Linked DNA regions of Homo sapiens: region 2 is linked to region 1. The links are contacts of gene promoters, found by promoter capture Hi-C in blood cells and fetal thymus (Javierre and others, 2016). All regions are on one chromosome and are shown on one strand. The core of a region is centred on a gene start or on the middle of the fragment in contact, and the rest is flanking DNA. Distances in the headings are between cores, read along the strand shown. Region 1 holds the start of ITGA2 (integrin subunit alpha 2). Region 2 overlaps PELO-AS1 (PELO antisense RNA 1).

The links. Contacts are between HindIII fragments. The CHiCAGO score rates a contact against its expected background, and 5 or more counts as called.
Region 2: a contact is called between a fragment that was not itself captured here and the fragment with the promoter of ITGA2 in region 1, in 1 of 17 cell types (endothelial precursors). The highest score is 5.1, in endothelial precursors.

What each region holds. Positions count from the first base shown.
Region 1 is chr5:52,987,881-52,990,997 of GRCh38, forward strand. ITGA2 (integrin subunit alpha 2) reads left to right here and starts at 1,472. Exons shown (of 30, transcript NM_002203.4): 1 at 1,472-1,652. The coding sequence starts at 1,589. It overlaps ITGA2-AS1 (ITGA2 antisense RNA 1), which reads right to left and starts at 2,406. Exons shown (of 4, transcript NR_186583.1): 1 at 2,210-2,406; 2 at 324-396. RefSeq lists an enhancer at 1-811 and a silencer at 1,276-1,425. The HindIII fragment of the contact is 2,612 bases long and covers 443-3,054 here.
Region 2 is chr5:52,726,709-52,729,825 of GRCh38, forward strand. All of the region lies in intron 2 of PELO-AS1 (PELO antisense RNA 1), which reads right to left. Among named protein-coding and RNA genes, the nearest start is that of ITGA1, 60 kb to the right of the region's middle. The HindIII fragment of the contact is 879 bases long and covers 1,023-1,901 here.

The DNA.
Region 1 (3,117 bases), core at 222-2,721:
TCGTGTCACCGGTTAGTGAGCAGCCACCTAAGAGCTCTCAGGTGATAGCCGGAGTTTTAGTAAGCAGGTGAGTACCCCAGACAATTCAGAAAAAAATGCCTTCAGGTGTTTGTCAAGGTGAGTAAGTGCAGCCAGTAAGTGACTGATAAGAAAACAGGAAAGAGCCTGGGACTATATAATTTGGGTTCAAAGGGTATTAGTCATAAGCCATCAGCAGCAACATCTGATGCATACCAATTTAATACTTTAACAATGTGACACATCAGCCCTATCTATAGTAAAGAGAAGAGCTTGATTTTTATGAATTATTAAGTCCTTCCCACCTTGAGCCACTTTGCTTCCTAGAGGCAGTATCTCAGGCATCCCATTCAGCTCATAGTAGCATTCCATGAAGATCTGGAATGATGACAATAATGATGATTATTAGACTCATAACTCCTTAAGCTTGATTTATGAAAACAGTTCGTTCCTTCACAAAAGTAGTCACTGGAAGAATTCTGGTTTCAGCAATGTGCTGGAAATTTGTGGCCAAACTTTTGGATAAAACATAAGATTCAGACAAGAAAAATTAATATCCTATTTCTTAGGTTTTTAACTAAAAATCTCGGATATAGAATGTTCTCTTTCCAGATGTGAGACTGAAATAATGGAAGAAAATGGTCACAGTCTATGTCATGGTGTAATGTAGACAGGGAGAGTCACAAGTGCATGTATGGGCTCTCAGCCTTTTCTCTGGCCTTGAAGTTAATCTCCTAAACTCAGTCATTAAATCAGCTCTTAATTATCTCGGAGGAGAGGAAGTAATGATGATTTCTCTCTCTCTGTCTCTCTGTCACACACACACACACACACACAGCTCTTGCAGCAGGTATTGCTTAAATATCACCTTGGATAATCATAACTTGTGAGCAGATCTTCTTTCCTGATGAGTTAGTTTCTAACCTGGTCATTCTGCGCTTATTTTTGTCCCTTTCTCCACCCACTTAGGAAAAACAGAGAAAGGGACGCACCGCGCAGCCCCTAGGCACTGTGGTTTAGGGCTAGTGCCCTCGGCACCCGCTGCCAGGAGCCGGGCGCTGCCAAGGGCTGCGGAGGGGCCACGTTCTCCCGGGGACTGGGGCATCTCCTGCGTGCTGGCGACAGGCTGCGGGGGCGGAGTGGTGCCAGGGCGGGCGCTCGCCCGTCGGATATGCCCACCCGTCCCGTCCAGGGCAGGAAAGCCTGCCAGGGCGCCATCCCCATCCCCACCGCCTCCAGGCTGCCGGGGCTGGGCCGCTGTACGGGAGCCAAGGTGCGGTGCCCCGCGTGTGGACGAGCCGAGGTGCAGCCCGCGGGGCCGCAGGGCCGGGGTGGGGCGGGGCGCGGCCGGAGCAGATCCGGTGTTTGCGGAATCAGGAGGGGCGGGCTGGGGCGGGCCCTCGGCGCTGCAGGAGCTGCCCAGAAACTTTTCCCTGCTCTCACCGGGCGGGGGAGAGAAGCCCTCTGGACAGCTTCTAGAGTGTGCAGGTTCTCGTATCCCTCGGCCAAGGGTATCCTCTGCAAACCTCTGCAAACCCAGCGCAACTACGGTCCCCCGGTCAGACCCAGGATGGGGCCAGAACGGACAGGGGCCGCGCCGCTGCCGCTGCTGCTGGTGTTAGCGCTCAGTCAAGGTAAGCGGGGATTTCGCTCTGCATCGGCTGCAGGAGGGACCCGCGCGGCTTCCTGGGGCTCGCTGGAGGGATTGGGCGGAACTAGGGAGCGAGCTCCGTGTGTTCCCTCGGATTCCACGTGGACTCGGGCTCCCAGCCACCAGGACCTGCTTGGAAAGAGATACTTCTTCGTTCCCTTCCTGCTATCCCAGGCCTTGCGTCCCCATTAGGCGCGTCTCGCCCTGTCTGTTAAGCACCCTCCAAAGTCATCTCAGTGAGTGCTTTGTTTTAGGTACACACACGCACACACACACACACACACACAGACAGACACGCACGCACTCAAGCATGGACAGTGTGGGGATCCGCGGGTGTCCTGGAGACCGCGAGTCCTGCAGCCCAACTTCCCCTGGCTCAGACAGGTGCCGCGCCTGCCAGAGACCAGGGAAATCCGGAATCCATTGCTGATGGCGGCCTGCAGCTCCCCAGCGCGGTGCTTGCTGGCTTTGCAGAAGCCTGCGAGCCCCAAAATGCTTATTTTTCAACCCAAGGATGTGAATAATGCCTCTATTTCTTACTTGAGGACGAAGCGCTGTGTTTCTTCCCGGGGGGACTTGGAATAAACCAAGCGCCACTTAAATACTTGGCAGAGGGGAATTCTTCCTTCCCTTCTGCCTTCCTCTTATTGTTGTAACATTGTCTATTCGACGAATGTAAACTTAGGCTAGGAAAAGTTCTTTTCACTTCTGGATCCTAGATGCCGCAATGAGAGAATAAGCCGGAGCAGCCGCTCTAACTGTAGTGCTGTGGCAGTGGGGCCCGCCCACCTCCTGAGTTCTTTTACACTAAGAGGAGGAAATAAGGCTGGGGTGGAGAGCTTTTGTGGGACCATCGCCTGAGTACTTTTTCCCTGACCATTAGGCAGAGCTAGAGTGTGGTCAAATTTAAGAATTTTAGTTTATTTGGAGGGAGAAGGAGACACGTTTGTATAATGTAGTTTGAACAGCGATCAAAACAAAACAAAAAAGTTGTCTCTGATTTTAAAGTGTGTGTGTGGTTTTTTTTTTTTTTTTTTACAAAGAAGATAAATATTTCCTAAGCTGTCCTCCTTTGAGACTGACATTCAGCCACTTGCTATTCTTTATTGTGGAGGAATGAATCCTAGTCCACGTCAACCTGGTGGCATTTTCTCCAGGTCAGAGATAAGAGAGAAATAGCACCACTGTCCCCAGCCCGAGCAGAGAATGGGCATCTTAGGTTTTCTGTCTCACCTGTATTGGGTGCTTCAGATACTTTCTCCGGGAACCAGATGAGTTGTTTTGAGGGGCCACCAACCCTAATCTACGGATTTCAGGTAAAGTTGTACTTGACATTGAAAATGAGTCTCTGGAATACAACTAGAGCTAATAGAAATATAAACCCAAGCTTTTCATCTCTCTGTAATTACCCAGTATTAAAATAAGCTGTGGAAACATAACATCATTTT
Region 2 (3,117 bases), core at 212-2,711, 260 kb before region 1:
ATATATGTCTTAATATCAAACATAGACATGTGTAACTTGGCCCCTTAAACTAGGGTAGGGGTTTCTCTAGATATACCTCATCCTTCTTCCTTCTTTCATGTCTATTTAATGCAATAAAGTGACAAGATCCTTTCTAGTTTCTATTTCCCTGGTCTTAGAGTCTGATCTTATGGTGATATTGGTCTCTTCTAAATCCAAAACCCACCACTCTTTGACACGTTGAAAAGTATCCATTGTTACTCCTCTCCCATTTAGGAATACTTCAGTGGGAAAGTTTGAGGGGAATAGATCTAAGGAAATCTGAGAGTGTCTCTTCTTTGAAAAACAAAAGGACTTACATAATACAAAATATACATATCCATTTTGCTCAACAATATAGATAACTTGCATTATAAGCTTATGTCTGAGTACATATTTTTAAGTCCTTGGAGTTCTCTCTGCCATTGAGCTTTTTACTGCCTGCTCACTTGTGCTGTTCATCTCTTTGATATCTTCCCCAGCACACCATCTCAGAGCCTTATAAGGCTACCCAGATCCTGACAAGAGATTAAATGTTTCTTATGCAATATTTTTCATCTTTGTCAAAGCAATTATCTTTAGTTTAGGAAAAGTGCAAACCAAGTTTTTCCATATGCTATCAGCAAGATCAATTAACATTATTTATATAATGTATGATTTACTTCAGTTTAATTTTGTGAAAATGAAACTGTCAAGGATTTCAAATTTTTCTCTATCTGTAATAATAAAAAAGAAAATTATTTATCTTTGTGCATGCACAGAGTTTCATACACAATATAATTCTTAGAACAAACAAAAAAATTATCCTGAGATAGAGAGATAGTTCCTGAAGGGAACAGAATAGCAAGATAAATATCACCAGGAATTTGGCCTTTCCCTCACTGTCTAATTTCTGGCATACAATAACTTTCTCTAAAAATGGCATGCAAGCTTTCTCTAAAAAAAAGTTTTGTTTACAGAAGGCCAGAATAGGTCTGGCAATTGTTTCTCCTTCATATCAATGAAGCTTCGGTCACAGAATTTACATGGTCTGTTCTTTGTTTGGAGAACAACGCTGGCACACTAGGTGTGGAGACGAAAGGAGAGAGGATACCAGAGAACAGCGCCAGTTTCCCTCTGAGTCAGACACTGAAGGGCTGTGGGAAAGGGAGCTGGTCTCGAGGGCCTTCCGATCTGACCACTTTTCCAAGCCACTCCTTTATCCTGCAGGAAGGAGGAGGCTGAGCTTTCTTGCCACCAGAGAAGATCAATCAGGATCCCTTTAAGGCAGGGAGAGCCACATATCCTAGTCTTCCAAAGACACAGGATGAATTTCAAAGGAACAGAAATGGCAAGTCACCAAAAAATAGATCCATATGTTGTTGTTGTTGTTTTTTAAAGTGAAAATAGCTTGTTTTTTTTTTTAGTAGAAAAACTACCACATGCTTATTATGAAAAATTCAGACAACACATAAAAAGACAAAGAGTAGAGCCAAAATTTGAACCCAGGCAGCCAAGCTCCAGAGTTTAAGGTCTGTACTTTGTAGTAGTTAGTTACTACTGCCCCTTGGGTCTTCCCAGAATTAAACAAGAGCTCCAAGCTGCTATTTGAATCACAGTTTGGTGAAAGGGAGTGAATTTTTTAGAAGCTGGAGACCCGGCACCAAAGAACAGACTTATAAAAAGGGTTATAATAGTAATGACTCACATGCTTATCAGGCGAAAGGCTGTTAGCCAAATAATATGTATGTGTATGTGCATACACTGTGTATGTGCACATACACAGTGTGTGTATAAGAAATCTCATTTAATCCTCACAATAATCTGTCAGTTACAATTTACTCGCATCAATCTAGATGTGGAAGCTGCAGCTCAGAGTTTTAAACAATTTTCTAGAATCACAAAGCTTATACTCTGTAATAACGAAGTTAGGACTACAATCTGTCTGACCAGATTCCCAGCTCTCGACATGAATTTGTTGAGCGTCAAAAGTATGCAGGTATTGTTAAAAAGAAAATAAATATAGAAAGGAAAGGAAAAGTCACAGATTATTTCCCCTACAATGTGCAATAATGACTGAACACCAGGACACCTGCGTTTCAATCTTAAGTTAGCCATGAATGAACTACACGGTGATGGGCAAATCACTCAGTGTTTGTACTTTGGTTTCCCGTCAAAATTGGCAGAGTGTGATAGGTTAGTGGTTCTAATTTTTGGTGATCATAAACCATTTCCATGAATTCAATGAACTCTCCCTCCAGAAAAATGTATAAATGAACACAAGACGTAAAACTGCATTCAATTCAGTAATGACTTCCTAGTATATATTTATTGTCAGGCCTTCCCACTGAAATGAAATATGAATGAGGGCAAAGGACTCTGTGTTTTCCTGTCTATATCCCCAGCTACTAGAGCATTACTTGGAACATCATAAGCTCTGGAAAACTATCAACTGAATGAATACATAGATGAGGGCTCCTCATCTCCTTGAAGTGGACCCATACTCGACCCAGTTAAAAAACCCATGGATTGAATTATTTATGAGACCCTTTTTGGTTCTGAAAGACCTAAGCTTCAACCAAATGAAACAGCCAAACACTCTACTTCTTTTGACCAGTAATATTGGTAATAACATGTGCTTCAACCTAATATGTTAACTTGCAATTTTACCAACTTGTCTAGTAGTGAGCATGCACACACGCACTATCATACATGGCACTAGTTTTTTAGCATTAGTCCTGCTCATCTGTGACAGCTGTTATTTATCTTGCATTTACCACATGATAAAACCCAGGCAAACAGATAAATGTGTAGTATTTTCTGCTTCTTGGAAACTGCCTGTGAATGCAAAGTCCCTTACTGTTTAAAGTACAGTTCAGTTGTATTTTCTTCTTCTTTTTTTTTTTTTTTGAGATGAAATCTTGCTCTCACTGCAAGCTCTGCCTCCCGGGTTCACACCATTCTCCTGCCTCAGCCTCCTGAGTAGCTGGGACTACAGGCACCTGCCACCATGCCTGGCTAATTTTTTTGTATTTTTAGTAGAGACGGGGTTTCACCTTGTTAGCCAGGATGGTCTCAATCTCCTGACCTCGTGATCCGCCCGTCTTGGCCTCCCAAAGC